Linked DNA regions of Homo sapiens: region 1 is linked to region 2. Evidence: promoter capture Hi-C in human tissues and cell types (Jung and others, 2019). All regions are on one chromosome and are shown on one strand. The core of a region is centred on a gene start or on the middle of the fragment in contact, and the rest is flanking DNA. Distances in the headings are between cores, read along the strand shown.

Region 1 (5,385 bases), core at 1,217-3,716, 660 kb before region 2:
CCACCACAAATGTATTTACTCCTGGAGGTACCTCCTCTCTTTCTGTCTGCTGGTTTTGCTGCCCTCATTCTGCTGCTTCGTTTCCTGGGCAGTGCCCCCAGCCAGACCCCACTGGCTCTTCCCCCTGAGATATGTGAACCTCGGAAACATGTTTTCCTAAGATCCCTTGGAAGTCTCTAGCTGCCTTTCTCTCTTTTGCCCAGAATTGAGAGATTTTGAGCCAAGATGCCTTCCTGAACTTACCCAGTTCTGGACCAGTTGGCATTTTAGTGTCCCACGCCAAGTCCAAGTTTCAGCAGAATGAGCAGGTGGTTTGAGCCTGTTTTATAGATGGCAGAGGTTGAGGTTCCACTGCTGTTTTCCATACACCCTTCATGTGTTGAGTCTGGGAAGGAGTAAGCCTAGCCTGCCAGTAGCCTAGGTTAGGAGACCAGCATAAGGATTTGTTAGACAATCTCGGGTCTTTGGCCAGAGGGGCAGCTCCAGCAGGCATAGTGGTGCCTGAAGTTAGGAATACTGTACTCTCTGTAGCTTTGGACCTCAGCCAAGGTATTGCCCATGGGGTGATGGCTCCAGGCCTGCCAGGCCTTCTGCCATGAGAATGTAGCACTCTGTGTAGCACACACCCCCATGACATCATTTAACCTGTCCCTTAAATGTTGACCATTAGCTCTTGCAGCGTCTTACAAAGACGACTTGAAGTTGGGAGTTAGGAAGGTGAACTTTTCTATCTGAATTCTCCGGGTCCCTGAAGCCCTCCTTGCCGCTCTCCATCTGTCTTGCACTGCCAGCTGGGTCCCTGCTGGGGCTCTGGGACTTCCACTTCTCAGTCCACATAGGAACCCAGCTTCCACTGAGTCACTGCCAAACCTGCCTCCCAGCCTGGGTGGGAAGGGGGAGAGCCACTGGTAGGAGCCAGCCCCACATGGAGGTGAGGAGCCACTGCCAACCTCCCGTGTCCAGGTGCTGATGTGGGCCTGCGGAGTGTGGGGCTGGTGCCTTCACCCAGACCCCTTCAATCATGTGATGTGTGTGTGTGTGCATGTGTGTGTGTGTGTGTGTGTGTGGCACTCTCAGAAGTGTTTGACAGGGTGCAGATGTGAGGCTTAGTGTTGGGAAAATGCCAAGGGCTATTATCATTAAAATTTGAAGCTTTATTTTTCCCTTAGAAGTGGGAAACCCAGAGCTCTGTTGATTTCCTACCACAACCCAGTAGGGGCCTCTCTCTGCCATGGGCTGGACAGCTTTTTGAGGAAGCCATTCAGCTCCCACAGTTGAGCTCCCACAGGGCTTTAGGTGTCCATTCCCTCTCAACTGCTTAGAGGCAGCTTTGAGCACAGCCTTCCTGGAAGGAAGCTAGGCAAGACCTGCCACACAGCGAAGGTTGGGTTTACAAGGGTGACATTGGTACCCCCTTGGCCAAGAGTAAAGAAGAACAAGTCTAAGCCTTGCTTTTATCTTAGTTGTCTGGGTGGTAGCAGAACTCATCAGCTCCTTATCCTCAGTCTGTTCCTCTATAAAAGATGAGAGATGTTCACTGACTTTGTGCAGTGAGAAGGCAGCAAGTACTCACGGCTGGTGCTGTGGGACCTCACAGCTTCTAAGGAGAGGGGCTGGGAGGGCCTTTGCCATCAGATCTGCCAAGCACCTAATGCTTGCCTGTGGTGAAGGCAAGATGGACCAAGGGCCTTGGAGAAAAGGGCTCCCAGGCTTCTGAACTTTGAGGCCTCAGCACTTTCTGCATTATCGTCAAACTCTTTGGAAAGAAACCAAATCATTAAAAAGTAGAAAGAAATCTGCCTCTTGTCTGCCCTACTGCCCCTTTACCCCCACTCTGTCCCCAAATGATATTATTGCACCTTGACCTGGGAGCGCAGAGAGGGGAGGGAGTTGGCAGAGACTTCTGGTGCCCTCTGCCCTCCTAGCAACAGATGCCACTTATATTTTGGCCCCTGGCAGCCTCGCCCAGCCCCTGATCAGCCCAGGCCTAGGGCAGTTAGGACCTTTCTGTTTATTTTCTGAAGCAGAGAGAATGATCTCAGAGTTTGCAAATGAAGCCTTTTTTGCACTTTCATTCACATGCACTTTGGTGGGGTTACATTTTTGTACTTGCCTCTTGTGTGTGCACATGTGTGTATGTGTTCTTTAAGAGAATCTTCTGGCTTAAGCTAAGGTGACTCTTGAAGGAGAAAAAGTTACAAACAAAATGTGGTGTGATCTGTCAGTGTATCAAAACAACATAAATAAACTTGAACAACTGATACGCAGCCAGAGTCTGTTTCTATTTTCATGATAAAACATCCAGAGAACACAAAATGGTTATCAGTAGTGGCACTACTGAAGAGACTAAAGTGTTCTCTTTGTTGTTAGTTAGGGGTCCTTATAGTTTTTAAGGAAAGAAACAAAGGATAAGGATAAATGGGTATCTGTCTGCACTGAAAGTGTAAACAGTGGGAACTCCCAGAGATCGGTGTGTAAAAGGGCCTGATCCTTAACATTTGATAAATGGTCAAGGGCAGAAAATTCAATGAAACCTGTAATTTTTAAAATAATAATATCAGCTGGGCACAGTGGCTCACACCTGTAATCCTAGCCACTTTGGAGGGCCAAGGAGGGAGGATCACATGAGGCCAGGAGTTCAAGACCATCCTGGGTAACGTAGCTAGATCCTGTCTCTATAAAAAAAAAAAAAAAAAAGTATTTTTTATGGTGGCATATGCCTGTAGTCCCGGTTACTTAGGAGGCTGAGGCGGGAGGATCACCTGAGCCCAGGAGTTCGAGGCTGCAGTGAGCTGTGATTGCAACACTGTGCTCTATCCCAGTGCTCAAATAAAAAATGAAAACATCAAACTTTCAGATGGGGAAATGTCAACCTGAACAGTTAGATTTTGTTAAGCTTCCCAGAGACTACAAGCAGGTGGGAAGGTGGCACCTTTCCCACCTTAAAGTGTTTGATCACTTTAACTGCTTTCTCGTCAATATCCTTAATTTCTTTGCCCTGCTGCTGTTCCAGATCACTTGTCTAGAAGCTCCAACCATGGAGCTGTCCGAGAGCGCATCCTCTCCACACCACAACTGGGAACCTACCTGACCGAGATTGGTGCCATGATAGACTGGTAGACCCTGGCTTCAATGTGAACTGAACCCTCAGGGCTACCCAGGAAGCACGTAGGGTCTGGGGGCTTTAGCTCTGACTTCCCTTTTCATGCTTCTCAAACCTCCTACCCCATTGTCTTGACAGATATCCTTACCATCCATGTCACAGAGAAAGTGGAAGTCATAGGAAGAAACACCTTCACCTTCCTGCCGTCTCATCTGCATGTCTCCTCCCACCCCCATTCATTCTGTTTCTTTCCTATTACAGTGGAAGACTTGATGCTTCCAACTTGTCAGAAGCTAATCTTCTACTAGCCATAGCTGCAATAAAAGGAAAAGAAACATTAAGAGACAGGAAGAGGCTTTTGGACATTTAAAATGGGATTATGGAGATAAAAATTCAACACAAGGGTCAAAAGATAAAGTTGAGGACATTTCCCAGTAGGCAGAATAAAAAGAAAAAGAGAGGCCGGGCCTGGTGGCTCATGCCTGTAATCCCAGCACTTTGGGAGGCCAAGGCAGGCAGATCACGAGGTCAGGAGTCTGAGACCAGACTGACCAACGTGGTGAAACCCCGTCTCTACCAAAAATACAAAAATTAGCCAGACATGGTGGTGCGCTCCTGTAATCCCAGCTACTCAGGAGGCTGAGGCAGGAGAATTGCTTGAACCCGGGAGGCAGAGGTTGCAGTGAGCCGAGATTGCACCACTGTACTCCAGCCTGGGTGGCAGAGTGAGACTTCACATCAAAAAAAAAAAAAAAAAAGAAAAGAAAAAAAAAGAAAAGATGAGAAATGGGAAAGAAGAAAATATCAGAGGACTAGTTGGAGGCCCAAATATATGATTAATAGAAATTCTAATAAGAGAGAACCGAGAAAACAAATTATATCAAAAACAAACAACAAACTTGTATACTGAAAACAATAAAACATTGCTGAAAGAAATTCAAGAACACCTAACTAAATGGAAAGAGATCTGTGTTCATGGCTAGGAAGACTTAATATTGTTAAGATGTCAATATTACCCAAAGATATTTACATATTCAATGCAATCCCTATCAAAATCTCAGCTGATTATTTTTTTCTTGCAGAAATGGAAAGACAGATCCTTAAATTCCTATGGAATTGCATGAGGCCTCAGATAGCCCAAACAATCTTAATAAAGTATAACAAAGTTGAAGAACAAACCGATTTCTTTCTTTCTTTCTTTTCTTTTTCTTTTTCTTTTTTTTTTTTACAGAGTTTTGCTCTCGTTGCCCAGGCTGGAATGCAAAGCCACAATAATCAAAACAGTGTGTTACTGGCATAAGGACAAATAGACCAATAGGATGGAATTCAGAGTCTAAAAACAAGTCCATATGTCCATAACCAATTGAAATTTTTTTTTTTTTTTTTTTGAGACAGAGTCTCGCCCTGTTGCCCAGGCTGGAGTGCAGTGGCGCGATCTTGGCTCACTGCAAGCTCCGCCTCCCGGGTTCACGCCATTCTCCTGCCTCAGCCTCTTGAGTAGCTGGGACTACAGGTGCCCGCCACCATGCCCGGCTAATTTTTTGTATTTTTAATAGAGGCGAGGTTTCACCGTGTTAGCCAGGATGGTCTCGATCTCCTGACCTCGTGACCCACCCGCCTTGGCCTCCCAAAGTGCTGGGATTACAGGCGTGAGCCACCACGCCCGGCCTAACCAATTGATTTTCAGTAAGAATGCCAAGTCCATTAAATGGGGAAAGTACAGTTTCTTCAACAAATGGGTCTGGGGTAACTGGATTTATACTTGTAAAAGAATGAAATTGGATACCTACCTCACCCCATATTCAAGAATTAACTCAAAATGGATTGATGACCTAAATATAAGAACTAAAACTATAAAACCCTAAGAAGAAAACATAAAGGTATATCTTCATGACCTTGGAATTGGCAATGAATTCTTAGCTATGGCACCAAAAGCATAAGCAACAAAAGAGAAAATAGATAAATTGAACTTCATGGCTGGGCACGGTGGCTCATGCTTGTAATCCCAGCACTTTGGGAGGCCGAGGTGGGCAGATCATAAGTCAAGAGATCGAGACCATCCTGGCCAACATTGTGAAACCCCGTCTGTACTAAAAATACAGAAATTAGCTGGGCGTGGTGGCACACGCCTGTAGTCCCAGCTACTCGGGAGGCTGAGGCAGGAGAATCGCTTGAACCCGGGAGGCGGAGGTTGCAGTGAGCCGAGATCTCGCCACTGCATTCCAGCCTGGGCAGCGGTGCAAGACTCTGTCTCAAAAAAAAAAAAAATTGAATTTCATAAA
Region 2 (5,896 bases), core at 471-2,970:
TCCTGCCCTCCAAGAGCTTACAATGTAACACTGTGCTAAGAGGCTCTGAACCTACATATGTAACTTTTAATTATACCATGCTGACTTAATAGCATGGCAGGTGATCACCCTAGATGTTAATACAAACTTTACATTCCTGTTGACACACTAAAAGATCTATCATCTAAAAACCAAAACAGGCCAGAATTAAAATCTGGCTACAGACTAAAACTTCAGGAATGAAGTTCTGTCTAAACCATTTTCAGACTTCCAGCATTTTTTTACTACTCACTTTTTTTCTCAGTTATTTTAGCCAAGAGCAAATGAGCGTTAGGCATAACCTTAAGAGCTAGAGAAGAGCATGTTTGTAATTATAAAAGGCTCATTATGCTCCTCTGCATCCCCAGATCCCCATTCAAAGAAAGGGCTGTACAACTAACTCCGGACAACAGATATAATTGGCTTGCCTTTCTTCATTAATATTAAATTTGTGGGAGACAGTCTTGGCGTTTTCACTGCAGTGAACTCGTGAAGTTGAACAATCTCCAAAGAGATGAAACTTTAAAAAGCCTATTCGAAGTTAAAGTCAAATCACACCAGGCAATTTAACTTTGCCTCGGATTTTCCACAACCTTACAAAAATTACAAAGTTCTTCTAAGTTCCTCCATCAAAAGGCCAAATTCCTGGTTTTTTCTTTCAACAAAATGGATGCGTCACAATCTTATTTACATCTTGCCGTTTTAACCAAGACCTCCTTGAATCCCAAGCCTAGGTCTACACTTCCAGGCCCCTGAGAAGACCTAAGAACGATCAAGAAGGGATGCGCGGGTAAGCGTTGTCATCACAACATTAAAGATTTCGAAACTCCCAGACCACCAGAAAGCGTAGAGTATGGGGAAGAAAACCAAACCCAGCAACTCTAAGAGGCAAACTAGACCGGGAGGAAACAATCGGCCCCCAGGACAAAAAGCACATTCACACCTCTCCGTGCAACCCACTCATCCCTTTATACTCGCAGCGCTGCAGCCAAAGCACAAAGTTCTTTCTTTTCACCCAGAGTCTGTGCCTGTCGCGGTTAAACATGAACGGAGGAAAATTCCTAGTCAGAACCCAGAGGGGTAGGACGGGGCTTGGAGTGTGGGGACAACGCCAAGCAGGGAGCTGTCCAGGGGCACTGCCCGCCCGGGGTCTCCAGCTGTGAAGTTGCGCTCCTCGGGAGATTCCTGGGGTCAGAACGAGAGGCTGGAGTCGGAGCGAGGCACAAGGGATGCGGGAGAAGAAAGGAGTGGGGCCGAAGAGGTAGCCAAAGAGAATGGGGCTCCGAGGCGAGAGAGAAAGGACTGGAAGGGGCAAAGGGCGGCCAAGGAGGGCGAAAAGGGGAAGCTGCCGCTGGGCGGGAGACGGCGGAGGAGCGAGACGGGGCGGGGGACCGCGGGAGGACGGGAAGGCGGGAAGGGGAGAGAGCGTGGAGCTCGGAGCTCCAGCAGGCACAGGCCGCGGCAGATAAGGGGGCGCGGAGAGGCCCAGGCCCGGCCCAGGCAGGAGGCGTCGGGAGACGACGCGACCCAAGGCGGGCGGGCCCGGGGAAAACCGCCCGCGGCCAGACCGGCAGTGGAAGCTGAGACGCAGTGCTGCGGCCCCTCCCCGTCACGTCAGGGCACTTACCTCCTCGCAGCTGGGACGCTCCGGTGATGCGGGGCAGTCAGTTCAGAGCGTCTCTCCCAAATCTCGGCACCCGACTGACCCGGATCCAAACCAGCCAAGGGGGCGGCCCGCGCCTCGGGAGTCGCGTTGCGCCTGCGCACTCCGGCATGCACCCCTCCCCCTGCTTATGCTCCTCCCACCCCAGTGACTCGGCAGCGCGGCAGCCGACGACTGCGCAGACGCAGGGCGGCGGCCGCGCCTCTCCAACGCCCCGCACCCGCCCCCCTCAGAAGCACGTGCGCCTTACGTAATTTCCTGTTATTCTTCGGTTTGCCTCCTCCCAGTGGCGTGGATTTGCTCCCGACCCGCTTTTGGGGCGTGCCTGCTTCCTCCTCTCTGTTAGGTGAGTGAGTAGGCGTCATTCTTCACAGTAGTCCTCTGCCTCCACCGCCCCGGGATCTCCTTGCGCTCGGTCCTCTACGTGGAGTCACCTATGCAGAGGAATTCCACGGGGCGGGGGCGAGGACAGGGTGCGGGGGTCTTTATGGCAGACAATCCCCGGCTGAGCGCTTGGCCAGAGTTTCTGTGATGCTAGAATCTGGACTGCCTGCGACCTCTCCGGGACTCGGACACCAGCCCTCGCCTCCTGGTGATCTTTTAGGTCCTGCAGAGAAGTGAAGAGGTATTGGACGTGGCCAGGGTCAATAGTGTGAAGCCAGAATTAGAATTGAATTGAAATGCCTTCGGTTTTGATATCTCTGCTGTTTGTCTTGAGGCAACTGCTTTTCCTCCTTTGGGCCTCTCAGTTTTCCATCTAGTAAGTGAGGAAGTTGAACCTTATCGGTGAATCTCGTGTTTTCAGGCGTAGACTCCTTTGAGAATCTGGTGAGAACTGTAGATCCTCTTGCCAAAGAAATGCACCTACACACCAAATTTTGCAAAAAGATTTAGGCAGTTCACCAAAGGAGATGAATTTTAGGATTCTTTACATTTTTCTGATTCTGAATGTTGCTCAGATGGTAGGCGGGAAAAGGTGATCTGTGCAACAGCTGCCACCCGCTCCATCACCAGGACTGGTTCTGCTGATCTAGCTGTGCCTCTCCTCGCCTGCCAATCTCCAGCTCCACGTCTGCACTGCTCAAAGCTTCGTGAGAACAGATGATTTTGCGCAATTGAGTTGGATGGCGTTGATTGTGGCCCACCCCTAGAGTGAGGGTTTTTCCCTGAACCAAAACTGGCCCCATCCACCGTCATTCCCCAATACCTTAGTTGTAGTCAACTAGATAGGCTGCCGAAGATGGTTTAACTGTGTCCAGCTTAACTACAGCCAGGCTTTGGAATGCCTGGCCTATGTCTGTAAATGAAATCTAACAATTTATTGTATAACGTTGTTAAACATGAAGCATGATGTTGGCCCTGGATAAAACATTTTAAATTCTCGTCGTTCATACCAGAGGCTCAGTAACTGACCGGTTGAAAGAAAACTGTTCATTGTAACCTAATGATGCTAGTTAGATAGCATTAGATTATGTTAGAGATCAGATAACTTGTTCTAGCTGCCTTTGTCCTGTCTCACAGTGCTAGTAAGTCAGGATTTAAACTGCCCTTCTCAACATCTCTTGGACAAGAAAAAGCGGGAAATATGATGTATTTATTTTCTCAGACCTTGCCAAGTGAAATGTATCAAAACCAAACATGTCTTTTTAAGCTGCCACTTCAAAATATAACTTAAGATAAAATCTCATATATCCTTGAGAAGGCCTGGCACGGTAGCTCATGCCTATAATCCCAGCACTTTGGGAGGCCGAGGCGGGTGGATCACTTGAGGTCAGGAGTTTGAGACCAGCCTGGCCAACATGGCGAAACCCTTTCTCTACTAAAAATATGAAAAATTGGCTGGGCATGGTGGCGCATGCACCTATAATCCCAGCTACCCGGGAGGCTGAGGCAGGAGAATCTCTGAAGCCGGGAGGCGGAGGTTGCAGTGAGCCGAGATTGCGCCACTGCACTCCAGCCTGGGCCAACAGAGCAAAACTGTCTCAAAAAAAAAAAAAAAATCTCATATATCCTTGAGGGGAAAGAATTGTCTGGATCGTGATTGAATTCCCAGGGCTTAGCACACTTCCTGGGGATTAGTAGATGCTCAATACAGTTTTGGTGAATTCTCATTTTACCTGCTTTCCATCCCTAATTATATTAAATACCAAAAACTAAAAAGTTACAGTATTTCATTTTATGTAAGCACATCTCCATCATAAAGAGTTAGATGCTTTCCAAGAATGTGACTCATTACTCGGGGAGTACTTGGAAGGTGGGAACCTCTTGTGAATGCTGAAGCCTGTTAACTCACACACCTGACGTGGCCTGAAGTTTTAAGTCATTATACATAGGACTGGCTCACGGTGTGATACATCATGACTTGGAAAGAGATAGAAAAGCTACAAAATGGGATGGATCTGAGTGAACAAAAAGCCAGATCGGTGTCCTATACCAGCAATTCCAAGTCTTTTTAACCATGGGAAAAAAACCTGAATTTGTGTGTGGACTTTATATTGAAGAAATCAACTTTGTATTAATGCACATGGTAATGCCATTTAATTAAAAAGCTGTGGTAGATGTAAAATTCCTCTAACAGTGCTTCTTTCTTGCTACAAGTGTCTTGTACATGCTTTAGTAAGAGAGACTTAATTCCATGAATTTATACTGCAAGAACAATTTATATAGGAAGATAATAGTTTCTCTTAAAAAATAACTTTGGAGAAGCCAAGTCCAAAGTAATAAAGAAAATTATTTGCCTAACCATGTGGCTGCCATCCTACCAGTTGGTAATCTGGAAAATATTCTGTTCTTATGTTTTAAGACTCAAATTAATTTATTTCTTACCTCGATATACTTTTTTAAATGACTTAGGGTAGGCCAGGCGTGGTGGCTCACGCCTGTAATCCCAACACTTTGGGAGGCTGAGGCAGGTGGATCACCTGAAGTCAAGAGTTCGAGACCAGCCTGGCTAACATGGTGAAACCCCATCTCTACTGAAAAATAAATAAATAAATATACAAAAATTAGCTGGGAGTGGTGGGCACACACCTGTAATCCTAGCTACTTGGAGGCTGAGGCATGAGAAGCCCTTGAACCCAGGAGGTGGAGGTTGCAGTGAGCTGAGATCATGCCACGGCACTCCAGCCTGGGCTACAGAGCAAGACCTTGTCTCAAAAAAAAAAATAAAATTAAATTAAAATGACTTTGGGATAGAAGATAGTGATAATGATTATTTGTCTTGATTTACAAGATGTTAGCTCATGTAATCTTCATAACCAATTTGTGAAATGTACTTCTATGATGTCTGTTTTACAGCTGAGGAAACTAGGCTCAGAATAGTTAGATAACTTGTCCAAGGTTACATAGTTTGTAAGTGGTAGAACGGGGATTCCAATCTAGGCAGTCTGACTATAGCACCCTGCTGACCGCTGAGTTACACTGCTTTCCTTAGCCTCCCCACCTTCACCTCCTGTATGTACCCAGCTAGACCAGGGATACCTGCTTTCACCTGGAAAATACCACTGGGTTTGAGGAAATTGGCTGCCCAGGGCCTAGGACTGTTCCAGCCACTCTTTCTTTGCATATATTTGAACCCAGCAGGCATATTTCCCTCTCAGGTCTTTTGTATGTATTTCCCCTCCTGGAGCATTGTTTACTCACAGTTCATCTTGTCATTCAAAGTCTCTGCTCATATCAGCTCCCCAGGGGGGTCTTCCTTGGCTTCCCCAGCACCCCCTTCACTGTGTATCCCTTTACCCTGCTTTATCATAGCACTTGTCACTACCTGACAATGTATAGTTATTTTTTGGTCCCCTCACTAGAATAGAAGCTACCCGAGGACAGGGACTTTGTGTCTTTTTTTTAGTCACTATTTTTTTTAATCAAAGATGCACATTTTCCCACAATTTATTAATAGCGGTTAGAAAATCTGAATGTGTCTTATAATCGCCAGTGTGTCCTGGTTTAATTGGTAGTATTTTTTTCTTTCTTACTTGTTCCTACAGTAAGTGGTGAGTCTTTAAAATGATGGTGTCTTAGAATTGATGAAAATACAGTGTATCCCCAAGGCCTGAACTCTATGTGGCACATAGTTGGCTCTCAATAATTACTTGTTAAAGGAAGGCATTGAGTGTTGTGTGCCAGAAACTATTGAAACCTTTTTTTTTTTTTTGAGATCTCGCTCTGTCACCCAGGCTGGAGTGAAATGGCACAATCTTGGCTCACTGTAACCTC

The links. The method cuts DNA at HindIII sites, captures the fragments that hold promoters and counts their contacts. A contact is called where the count stands out against the background at its distance.
Region 1: a fragment that was not itself captured here is called in contact with the fragment with the promoter of OSER1 in region 2 in 1 of the 25 tissues and cell types used here (small bowel).

Annotation. Positions count from the first base shown.
Region 1 is chr20:43,548,688-43,554,072 of GRCh38, forward strand. It overlaps a transcript of L3MBTL1 not described here. Among named protein-coding and RNA genes, the nearest start is that of SGK2, 7.6 kb to the right of the region's middle. The HindIII fragment of the contact is 6,762 bases long and covers 1-5,385 here.
Region 2 is chr20:44,209,051-44,214,946 of GRCh38, forward strand. It overlaps OSER1 (oxidative stress responsive serine rich 1), which reads right to left and starts at 1,721. Exons shown (of 4, transcript NM_016470.8): 1 at 1,646-1,721. It overlaps OSER1-DT (OSER1 divergent transcript), which reads left to right and starts at 1,910. Exons shown (of 3, transcript NR_038339.2): 1 at 1,910-2,027; 2 at 5,838-5,896. RefSeq lists an enhancer at 1,131-1,750 and silencers at 1,410-1,479, 1,675-2,123. The HindIII fragment of the contact is 11,638 bases long and covers 1-5,896 here.